Linked DNA regions of Homo sapiens: regions 1, 2 and 3 are each linked to region 4. The links are contacts of gene promoters, found by promoter capture Hi-C in human tissues and cell types (Jung and others, 2019). All regions are on one chromosome and are shown on one strand. The core of a region is centred on a gene start or on the middle of the fragment in contact, and the rest is flanking DNA. Distances in the headings are between cores, read along the strand shown.

Evidence for each region. The method cuts DNA at HindIII sites, captures the fragments that hold promoters and counts their contacts. A contact is called where the count stands out against the background at its distance.
Region 1: a fragment that was not itself captured here is called in contact with the fragment with the promoter of POU3F1 in region 4 in 2 of the 25 tissues and cell types used here (dorsolateral prefrontal cortex and mesendoderm cells).
Region 2: a contact is called between a fragment that was not itself captured here and the fragment with the promoter of POU3F1 in region 4, in 1 of the 25 tissues and cell types used here (lymphoblastoid cells).
Region 3: a fragment that was not itself captured here is called in contact with the fragment with the promoter of POU3F1 in region 4 in 1 of the 25 tissues and cell types used here (dorsolateral prefrontal cortex).

Annotation. Positions count from the first base shown.
Region 1 is chr1:38,431,824-38,434,523 of GRCh38, forward strand. The region is part of intron 2 of LOC105378657 (a long non-coding RNA gene); the gene reads right to left. All of the region lies in intron 2 of LOC107984943 (a long non-coding RNA gene), which reads right to left. Among named protein-coding and RNA genes, the nearest start is that of LINC01685, 42 kb to the right of the region's middle. The HindIII fragment of the contact is 5,970 bases long and covers 1-2,700 here.
Region 2 is chr1:38,399,503-38,402,202 of GRCh38, forward strand. All of the region lies in intron 2 of LOC105378657 (a long non-coding RNA gene), which reads right to left. Among named protein-coding and RNA genes, the nearest start is that of LINC01685, 74 kb to the right of the region's middle. The HindIII fragment of the contact is 3,935 bases long and covers 1-2,700 here.
Region 3 is chr1:38,541,118-38,543,817 of GRCh38, forward strand. No RefSeq gene overlaps it. Among named protein-coding and RNA genes, the nearest start is that of LINC01685, 67 kb to the left of the region's middle. The HindIII fragment of the contact is 3,741 bases long and covers 1-2,700 here.
Region 4 is chr1:38,045,345-38,048,044 of GRCh38, forward strand. POU3F1 (POU class 3 homeobox 1) reads right to left here and starts at 1,449. Exons shown (of 1, transcript NM_002699.4): 1 at 1-1,449. The coding sequence starts at 1,399. The coding sequence ends at 44. MIR3659HG (MIR3659 host gene) reads left to right here and starts at 1,790. Exons shown (of 5, transcript NR_168386.1): 1 at 1,790-2,270. RefSeq lists a silencer at 1,510-1,839 and enhancers at 1,752-2,252, 2,253-2,700. The HindIII fragment of the contact is 7,503 bases long and covers 1-2,700 here.

The DNA.
Region 1 (2,700 bases), core at 173-2,672, 390 kb after region 4:
GAGTGAGATAGAAGGAATAGGAAACAAGGAGAATGAAGCTGGCTGAAAGGCAGAGATGGGAGAGAGAGGGATGGGGACATCAGCCAAAAACTGATTAGAGAGACAAAAGGAAAAGGAAAGAAGGACATGAAGAAAGGAAACAGTGAGGATCTAGGGAAGATAGAGGGTGGGAGGGAAGAAAAGTGCTCAGTAAATACAGCTGCCGTTCCCTGCAGTACCTGCAAGGCACTCTGCTCCACAGCCTGTGCCCGCCTACCCACCTCAGTTGGTTAAAACCTCCCACCATGGGCCTGCTTTCAGGGCACACCTGACTCAGACCCCCCAGGCCCCCAACCCTTCCCTGACCAGGACTTTGCAGGAGCAGTGCACTCCATCCCCAGGAGGCAAGCCTGCTACAATTTATTGCCCAGAAAATCCATAATCTCTCCCTGGGACATGAGGCCTCAAAACCCATTCCTGCATGCATAACCAGAAAAGAGAAGACCTTGGCTAGGCAGGGTGGCTCATGCCTATAATCCCAGCACTTTGGGTGGCCAAGGCAGGTGGATCACTTGAGGTCAGGAGCTCGAGACCAGCCTGGCCAACATGGTGAAATCCCATCTCTACTAAAAATACAAAAATTAGCCAGGCATGTTGGCACATTCTTGTAATCCCAGCTACTTGGGAGACTGAGGCAGGAGAATCGCTTGAACCCAGGAGGTGGAGGTTGCAGTGAGCTGAGATCGTGCCACTGCATGCCAGCCTGGGCGACAAAGCAAGACTCCGTCTCAAAAAGAAACAAAAAACAAACAAACAAACAAAACAAAACAAAAAAGACCTGGAGCATCCATCTTCAAGTCTCTAATGGGCAGCCTTATGACACAAAGTCTCTGTGCAGATCCAAGGCCAGGAATATGACCGATAATTAGGCACCACACAGAGAGATCTTTGTTAAGGAAAAAAAAATGCTAATTGATCTGCCACAGATGAAATTTGCTGTTTCAGGAGCTGGTGAGTTCCCCATTACAGGAGAACTCATGCAAGCAGAGGCTGGAAACCAAACCTACCTGTGATTGAGCTGAATGAGCCCAGATCTCTTCTATGCTTCCGATTTCTCCTAAAACCTTTGAAAAGTAGCTTTTAAATCCATCATTACTCTTAAAATCTTCCTCTATTTATGTGATTAGAAAACTCCTTCCATCACATATATAGTTCAAGGAGAAAGTTCATCCAAGTCCCCATTCAAATGATCACAAATTCTGAATCAGTGGGTTTTGAATTAGTGGGGTTTCCCGGGAGAATTTAAATGTTCCACCCAGGAGACATGAAGAAGAAGGTTCTCGCCTTCTCTGGGAACACAGCCCAAGAAAAGAAGAGGAGATGGCAGGCAGGCTGCCTCTTGTGCATTCCAATAGACCCGCTGCCTCTCAGAATCTCAATGTTCCAGCCCCAGAACAGTTGGTGAAGATGGGATTTCAGGGAAGGAGTGAAAGCAGAACTGCCAGTCATTCAAGCATCCGGTGCTGGGGAGGGTGGTTTCTCCAGGGGATGTGCCAAGTCCGGGGCCCTGACCCTTCCTGCAGGCTTCCATCAAATGTCATCACTTCCACGAGGCCTGACCTGACCCTTGCTTCAATAACTCGGACAGTACCCTGAGCTTCCTGCATACACAGCGCTTTCATCCTGGCTAGTTACTATCTGTCTCCCTGCACCACTGGGACAGAAGTCATGCTTGGGGCCCTTACTATCTGGAATGGAAACACTTCATGAGGTTACAGGGACCACAGGCAGCAGGAGTTGCCCATTTCCTCTTGCTCCTTGGATGCTGAGTGCTTTTTTTTTTTTTTTTTTGAGACGGAGTTGTGCTCTTTTTGCCCAGGCTGGAGTGCAATGGAGCGATCTTGGTTCACTGCAACCTCTGCCTCCCGGGTTCAAGTGATTCTCCTGACTCAGCCTCGCGAGTAGCTGGGACTACAGGCGCCCACCAACACGCCCGGCTAATTTTTGTGTTTTTACTAGAGATGGGGTTTCACTATGTTGGTCAGGCTAGCCATGAACTCCCGACCTCGTGATCCACCCACCTCGGACTCCCAAAGTGCTGGGATTACAGGCGTGAGCCACCGCGCCCGGCCAAGTGCTTTTTGATCTAACCAGTTGTGGGTTACTTTTAGAGCTTTGCTTTATCTCCACCTCTGAGCCTCACTTGACCCATTTCTGGTTGCCTGCTTCTTATTCTCAGAACTGTCTTTTGTCCCCCTCCCGCCTACTGGCTCAGATAACCTTCCCTTAGGGTTCCAGCCTCCTTGGGATTTGCCCAGCCCCTGCACTGCCTAATGAGGGCTCTTCACCTGTCTGGGTTCTTCCTTTTCTGCCAGGGCAGTCCTACTTGCTCATACTCTGGGCCAGCCCAAGAATTCTCCCTCTGTCCTCCAACTGTCCTGACATGCTGAGAATTCCATGGAGGCAGAAACTGTGTCTCACCCCTCTCCGGATCCCCGACCCCTACAACAGTTGCCTACAGCAAGGAGCTCAGTGAAAAAAAAAAAATGTCAAATTAAAATTGAACTGAAAGGCAAAGAAAAGTAAATGCTTTCTTCTGTAATGCAAGATTTTAGGAAGGAGGGCTTAAGACAAATCAGGGGAGTGGACTAAAAGATTTATTGTTTACAGTTTCCCTCCCCCTCTCCTAAACAATCATTCATTGGACCCTACAGTTATGTA
Region 2 (2,700 bases), core at 36-2,535, 350 kb after region 4:
ACCAGGAGTTGGGCACAGGAGGAGGGAGGAATTGGAAAATGTTGGTCAAAGGATACAGATAGGAGAAATAAGTTCAAAAGATCTATTGTATATCATGGTGACTATATTTAACGACAGTTATTGTATAACTGAAAATTGCGAAGGCAGTAGATTTTAAGTGTTCTCACCACAAAAAATGGATAAGTATGAAAGTAAGACACGTTAATTAGCTTGATTTAACCATTCCACATTGTAAACATATGTCAAAACATCATGTTATATACCATAAATATATATAATTTAAATTTGTCAATATTAAAAAATAAATATTTCTAAAAGAAGAAATGCTAAAGGAAATTCTCTATGCTAAAGAGAAATGAGACCATATGGAAATTCAGCTCTACAGAAAGGAATAAAGGGCACTAGAAATGATAACTTTGTAGGAAAATACAAAAGAAATTTTTCCTTCTTTTCTTAATTATTTAAAACATGAATTGATAGGACTTCTACTTCTAGCCAGTATGGGGTAGCAGGGGCTGAATTTAACCTCCAATCTGAAACAATTTCTTTTTAAGCTGAACAAAATATATGAAAAAATAGCTGTGAAAATATTAGGCACCAGGTAATGAAGGACAGCAATCCCTAAATGACAGGAAACAAATATAGCCCTATTATTGACCTGGTTTACCTCCTGAAGGAAGTTTGCAGACCATCACAAGGAAGGCAGATCCATGGCAGAGGCTGGCAATATCCCTGAGTTGAGGAGGCACAAATGGAAGTTGAGAAAAACAAAGAATCTAGAGTTCCCAATGTAGTGTATTTAAAAGAAGAGCTGCACACAGGGAAAACTTCAGAAATCTACAGAAGCTTCCCTTGAGTATTCAATAGAATAATCATCAGCACATGCATATGAACAACTAGTCTAAAAAAATAACTCAAAAGATTAGAGGAAACAGTGCTACGCTCACAAGAATAGGAAGGGTCTATTCCCAATAGCCAGAGTAGAATACTTCATAAGTCATAGGACATCAGTTAGAGTACTGAGCAGGGTCTTCCCTCAGTAGTGGGAAAAATTAACCCTAGACTAAATGCTGCTGGTCCCTGATAATTGAGCTTAAAGCAAGAACCAAAAGTATTAAGCTATTTGAAAGTAATGTGTATCTCCAAATAAACCTCAAGAATAATTTTAGGAATACAAAAATATTCAGCACCCAACAAGGTAAAATTCAAAATATATGGCATCCATAAAAAAAATTATCAGGCATTCAAAGAACTAGAAAAATAAAACCTATAATGAGGAGAAAAATCAATCAAAACTGACTCAGAAATGACACAAATGATAGAATTAAGAGACAAGCATATTAAAACAGTCATTATAACTGTATTCTATATGTTCACCAAGCTAGAGAAAATATTGAACATTAAGTAGAGACATGGAAGATATTAGAAAAACTGAAACCAAACTTCTAGAGAAGAAAACAACCATGTCTGAGATAAAAAAAAAAAATACAATGAATGGGAAATAGCAGATTAGACATTTCAGAGGAAAGGAGTAGTAAACTTGAAGACATAGCAATAGAAACTACCCAAAATAAAGTACACAGAGGAAAAGACACACATAAAAAAAAAAACACACAGAGCAACAGTGACAACTTCAAGTGGCCAAATCTATGTGTAAGTGGGGTTCCCAAAAGAAAGGGAGGACAGAAAAGTATTTAAGGAAATAGTGACCAAATGTTTCAAATTCGATAAAAATTATAAGTTCACAGATTCAAGAAGGTCAGTGAACACCAAAACCAGGAAATTAAAAAAAAAAATACACAAACGCATATCAGAATCAAGTAGCTTTAAATCAGTGACAAAGATAAAATTGGAAAAGTAGAGGAGATGCTCTACATGCAGGGCAATGAAGATAAGGAGGATAGCAGATTTCTTGTCAGAAACAATGCAAACTAGAAGACAGTGGCTCAAAATCTTTAAAATTCTGTAAGAAAAGAAAATGTCAACCTGGAACTCTCTACTAAGAAAAAATTATTTTAAAAGTTAAGGCAAAATAAATACTTCTTTAGACATACAGAAGCTGAAAGAGTTAATCACAAGCAGACTGGTGGAATAGAAAATGTAAAGGGAAGTCCTTCAAGCAGGGGGAAAAAAAGGATAATATCAGATGGAAACCTAGATATATTAGGGGTCAGCAAATTATGGCCCATGAGCCAAATCTGACCTGCTGCCTCTTTTTGTGAATAAAGTTTTATTGGAACACAGCCATACCTATTCATTTATTTGTTGCCCATGGATGCTTTCATGCTACAATGACAGGATTGAATAATTGTAACAGAAACCACATGGTCTAGAGTATTTATTACCTGGCCCCAACAGAAAAAGTTTTCTGACCCTTGATCTCCACAAAGTATTGAGCAGCACAGGACATGGTATTACATAAGTAGATTTGTAATAATGATAATGATAATAATAATAATTTCATTTATTATTTAAATATCTTCAAAAATAATCATCTGTTTAAGGCATAATAGCAACATATTATGAGATATATAAAATATGTAGAAGTGAAATGTATGATAACAATGCCCAAAGGCCAGTAGGGAAAAACTAGAGTATACATGAACAGGGCTTATACTACACATGAAGTAGTAAACTATCACTGAAAGTTAGACTGTGGTAATTAAAAGATGTATACTATAAACCTGAAAGCAACCACTA
Region 3 (2,700 bases), core at 40-2,539, 500 kb after region 4:
AGTTCTTCCACTTCCAAGTCCATCTTTTTCTTTTGCATTTCTGATTTTTGAGATTGACAGAGCTGATGATTTTGCAAACCAAGGCCAAGGTAAAACTCCCCATCACTTCCACACAGGATGTCTGGGACAGCTTTGCTCTGATTTGTGAGTGTAATCCATACTGGGACTGTCATTGCTTAAGATTCTTAATAGACACGATTGTCAGGTCCAGCTCTCAGGTTCAAAAAGAAAAACTGTTCAAGAACAAGACAGGGAAGGAGAGACTTAGCAGCTACAGCCAATGGGAAAATTCTCAGCAGAGATTTTTCACGGTCATGGAGCTGAGAATGAGTCAGCATTCTAGGTGGGGGTTCTCAGATGCTCCTGGGCTATATTGACACATGTTTCCTGGTGTCTTAAACAGGGATGTGAGGGTCCTGCTCTCATCTGTCACTGGAGCCTAGGCTCATTTTGGGACTCTATACTTCAAGGACGGCACAACCAGCTACAGCCCCTGAGACGGGCTGCAAGTTTGGTGGAAGAGGGTTGGAAGCTGTGTCAAAGGAAGAAGAAAGAAGGATCTGAACTGGGGCTCTTATGGATGGAAAAGCACACAGTTGAGGGACATGATTGCTGTTTCCAAAACTCTGAAGGGCTGTCACAGGAAAGAGTGAGAAGACTTGGACCGTGAGGCCTAAAAGCGCAAACCTAGAGTCAAGAAGTGGAAGGGAGAGTGAGAGTGAGAATGGGAATTCAGAGGCAGAACTCAAATAAGGCGCTTAGGAGCACAAGCTTTGGAGTTAGACAACTTAGATTTGGATCTCCACTTAGCTGTTCCTTAGCCCCTCTGGAAGCATCAGCTTCCTTGTCTGAGGAACAGGAATAATAGCACACCTGCCTCAGAGAGTTCTTGGGAGCATTGACTGAGACAAGCCAGGTAAGGTGCTGAGAACTGAACATATGGAAGTGCCTTATAAATGGTCTTTGTAATAATTATTATTATCAGAGTGTTACTGTTACTTTTATTGCCAGAGCTGTTTAGCAATAGGTTGTGTGCAGATGGTAGCAAGCACCCCTACTCCTACAGATCCGTGTAAGCAGGGGTTCCAAGACTCAGCACTCAGTGAAGATATGGTGAAGTAGATTCAAGCCTTGAGGTGCAAGAAGGACTAAAGAATCTCCAATTATTTGGAATGGAGATTCTATGAATTCTGCCACGAGCCAGAAGTGCCCTTCAGAGGAACATCCCCTTCCCATTTCTGGAGTCTGGGGAGCAACATCATGTGCCTGATGCTCCTGTTTCCAATGAGAGTTACCAAGCCAATCGTTGGGAATAGCCTGGCCTTTGTCCAGCACAGATGAGCAGAGACTGCTCATTTCTTGGCAGTGACCACCAAAGGTGATGAGAACAAAGCACTCAGTGAGGGCCATAGCTCTGCCCACATGAGGTGTGACAATGAGCCAATAAACACCTCTGGGGTGCACTGAAGCAAATGCAGACCGTGAGTATCGAGCAAAATAAACTGGCTGCTGAAGGCCCTGCTGGCAGGGGTTCCCTGTGTTCCATGCATATCTGTGGAAAGCTCAGGGCTTAGCCCAAGTCTAAAGTTGAAGGGGCTCCTGGTAGCAACCTGGAGGAGGGTGGATTAACAAGGGGATGGGTTGGGGTGGGTGAGGGCATGTGCACCCTGAGTGGAGGGGGTTATGGAGGACCATGTTTTCTGGACCAGGCTTGCAGATGTGTACCCAGCCAGCCCTCATCCATGCAGGTCTGAGTCCTAGAGATGTGAGCAGTAGAAAGAAGCTATAATGTGGTTTGCAGAGAGGATATCAGTGAGACATGGGAGTTCGGGGCAGCCTTCTTAGGGCTCATCACAAAGTGCAGCTGCCTGCACGTGGACTTGTGCCATGTGCCTGTGGAAGGAAAATATTCTCCCCACTTCATCAGGACAACTTACGCATGGGTATGAGGGTGGCCAAGGACAATTTCAGGACCATCAACAGGATACTGCACCTATGGTGACAAGCAAACCTGCAGCAATATTGCTTTGCTCATTAATGAATTAGCTAGTTAATTAATTTGATATGGTTTGGCTGTGTCTCCACTCAAATCTCATCTTGAATTGTAGTTTCCGTAATCCCCACATATTGTAGGAGGGACCCAGTGGGAGGTAATTCAGTCATGGAAGTTGTTACCCTGTGCTGCTTTTCTTGTGATAGTGAGTTCTCACAAGATCTGATGGTTTTATAAGGGCTTTTCCCCCTTTTTCTCAGCACTTTCCTTCCTGCCAACGTGTGAAGAAGGACGTATTTGCTTCCCCATCCACCATGATTGTAAGTTTCCTAAGGCCTCCCAGCCCTGCAGAACTGTGAGTCAATTAAACCTCTTTCCTTTATAAATTACCCAGTATCTGGCAGTTCTTTATAGGAGCATGAGAATAAACTAATACATAATTAGGTGATATTTTACTGATTACCTAGTGTGATGGTGAATTTTATGTGTCAACTTGACTGGCCTGCAGGATGCCTAGACCTTTGGTCAAACATTATTCTGGGTGTGTGTGTGTGTGTGTGTGTGTGTGTGTGTGTGTGTGTGTGTGTTTCTAGGTGAAATTAACATTTCAATTGATAGACTGAGTAAAGCAGACTGCCCTCCCTAATGTGAGTGGGCCTCATCCAGTTAGTTGAAAATGTACATAGAACAAAGAGGTTGGGTAAGAG
Region 4 (2,700 bases), core at 199-2,698:
GCCCGCGCCCTGCAGCGCGCCGGCGGGGGCCCGGCCCGCGGGGTCACTGCACTGAGCCGGGCAGTGTGTGGTGGTGGTGGTGGTGCAGCGCCGCCGGCGGGGGCGGTGGGGGCGCGGAGGGTGGCGATGCGCCGCCCCCGCCAGGCCCTAGCTCCCCAGGCGCGTATACATCGTCCATGGGCGGGTGGCCCGCGCCGGCCGCAGGGGTCATGCGCTTCTCCTTCTGCCGCCGGTTGCAGAACCAGACGCGCACCACCTCCTTCTCCAGCTGCAGGCTGTCTGCCAAGCCGGTGATCTCGTGCGCCGAGGGCTTGGGGCACTTGAGAAAGTGGCTCTCGAGCGCGCCTTTGACCCCCACCTCGATGGACGTGCGCTTCTTGCGCTTGCGGCCCTGCGCCGCGATCTTGTCCAGGTTGGTGGGGCTGCCGCTGGACGAGTCGGTCTCCTCCAGCCACTTGTTGAGCAGCGGCTTGAGCTTGCACATGTTCTTGAAGCTCAGCTGCAGGGCCTCGAAGCGGCAGATGGTGGTCTGCGAGAACACGTTACCGTAGAGCGTGCCCAGCGCCAGCCCCACGTCGGCCTGCGTAAAGCCCAGCTTGATGCGCCGCTGCTTGAACTGCTTGGCGAACTGCTCCAGGTCGTCCGAGCTGGGCGCATCCTCGTCCGAGTGCTCGCCCACCGATGAGCCGCCGCCGCCCGCGCCCGGGTGCAGGTGCGCCGCCGCCGCGTGCAGGCCGCCCGCGTGTGCATGTCCGTGTGCGTGTCCGTGGGCGCCCAGATGCGGCGGCGGCGACGGCTCCAGCTGCGCCTCGTGGCCATCCTCGTGCAGCGCGTGGTGCAGGCCCGGCCCCGCGCCGCCACCGCCCGCCGCCAGCATCCCGGCCAGGCCGCCGCCGCCGCCCCCCGGGTAGGCCGCCTGCGCGTACAGCCCGAGCGGCTGGGGCTGGTGGCCCCCGCTGGCCCCGGGCGAGGGCGACATGGCCGGGCCCAAGTGGTGCGCTGTGCTGCCCTGCGCCCATGCCGCGCCCGCGTGGGCCGCCCCCTGGTGCACCAGGCGCGCGTGGAAACCTCCGCCGCCGCCGCCGTCGTCGGCTCGGCCGGTGCCGCCGCCGCCTGCCTTGCCGTGTTCTAGGTGCGGGCCGCCGGCCCAATCGCCGCCGCCGCCTCCTCCCGTGGGTAGCCACTGGGGGTGCGCTAGGCCCACGGGGTGGCCCGCGCCCGCGCCCAGCCACTCGTGGTGCATCAGCTTCTGCACTTCGCGGTACGCGGCCCCTGCATGCAATCGCTCCGCGGCCGCCGCCGCCGCCGCCGCCGCCGCGGCGTCCGGGTGCATAAGCGGCCCGGTGCCCCCGGCTCCGCCACCGGGGCCCCGCGGCAGGTACTGCGCGGTGGTGGCCATGCCGCCCCGCGCCCTGCGCCGCGCCGCCGCCGCCGCTCCGCTCCGTCTGCGGGCCCCGCCGCCTCGCTCCGCCGGCTTAAAGCCCCGACCCGCTCGGCGCTCCGGAGCCCCACCCCGCCCGCCGCCCATTGGCTGCCCGCGGAGCTGCCTCCCGCCTCCCCTGCCCGGCCCCCGCCCCGCGCGCCCGCCCGCCACCCTGCCCGGCCGCCCAGAGCTCTCCATTGGGCGTCGCTCCCGGGGTCCCGCGCGCCGGCCGTGCTGATTGGCCGCTGGGGCTTCATTCACGGCCCCCCTACCGTCCGCGTACACACTCACGCCCCGGGGGCGCGGCCGCCACGTGGGGAGTGGCGCGGGGGTGGCCCTGGGACCGCACCCCCTCTCGTCCTGGCTGTGTGGGCCCCGCTTTCCCCCAGCGCTGGAGACTCCGAGCCCGGCCGGTCCCACATTCCACGCGAGCTGAATTCCCGCCCGCATCCCGCCCGGGCAGCAGGGATTGCCGGCTCCGGGAGGCGCTCGGGCTCCGAGAAGCGGCTCAGCCCCGCGCCCCTCCCTCCTCAGTACCGCTGCCGGCGGACCAGGATTCCCGCGGGTCCTGGCGGCTGCGAGCGCGAGGCGGCGCGGATTCGCGGCTCGGTTCCGGCGCGACTGCTCACCGCGCCCGCCTCGCCTCCCGCGGCTGCCAGCGTGCACTGGGCGCTCCTCGGCGCGTCTGCCCGGCCCGTCTCGGCTTTCCTTCTCCTTCCTCTAGTCCCAGCGTCACAACTCCGCCGACCTCCTCTGCCCTGAGAGCGCGTCCGGTGCGGGCGGAGTCGGACGGACTCTGGCTTCACGCCTCGCGCGGGCACACCTTCTCCCGGGCACTGAGGCCCAGGTGAGTACCGCGCGGGCAGCTGGGGCTGGGACGGCGGGCGGCAGCGGTTCTACAGTCCTACGCGAGCCCCTGGTACCCGGCCGCGCTCCGGGGTTCCAGAAGGAGAAGATCTCGAGGTGGAGACTGTGGCTCCGGGGAAAACGCTGCTGGCAAGGGCGCTAGTTGGGGGTGGACGTTGGGCCCAGGGGTATCTGACCTGCGCCGCTGCAGCCTTCTCGCTCCTTCTCCCAGCTTGAACGGCTCATCGGCTGTGGTCGTGGTGGGATCACGCCCCGGGAGAGGAGAAGGATGGGCTCAGGGAAGGGGCTCGGGCTCTCCAGAAATCCGGCGTGCAGGCCGGGAGCTGTCCAGCCTCGCTAAGAGCCCTGGGCTAGAGTTTGCCCGGACTTGCCTGGAGCTGCTGAAAAGGGAATTGAGATTGAGGAGGCCT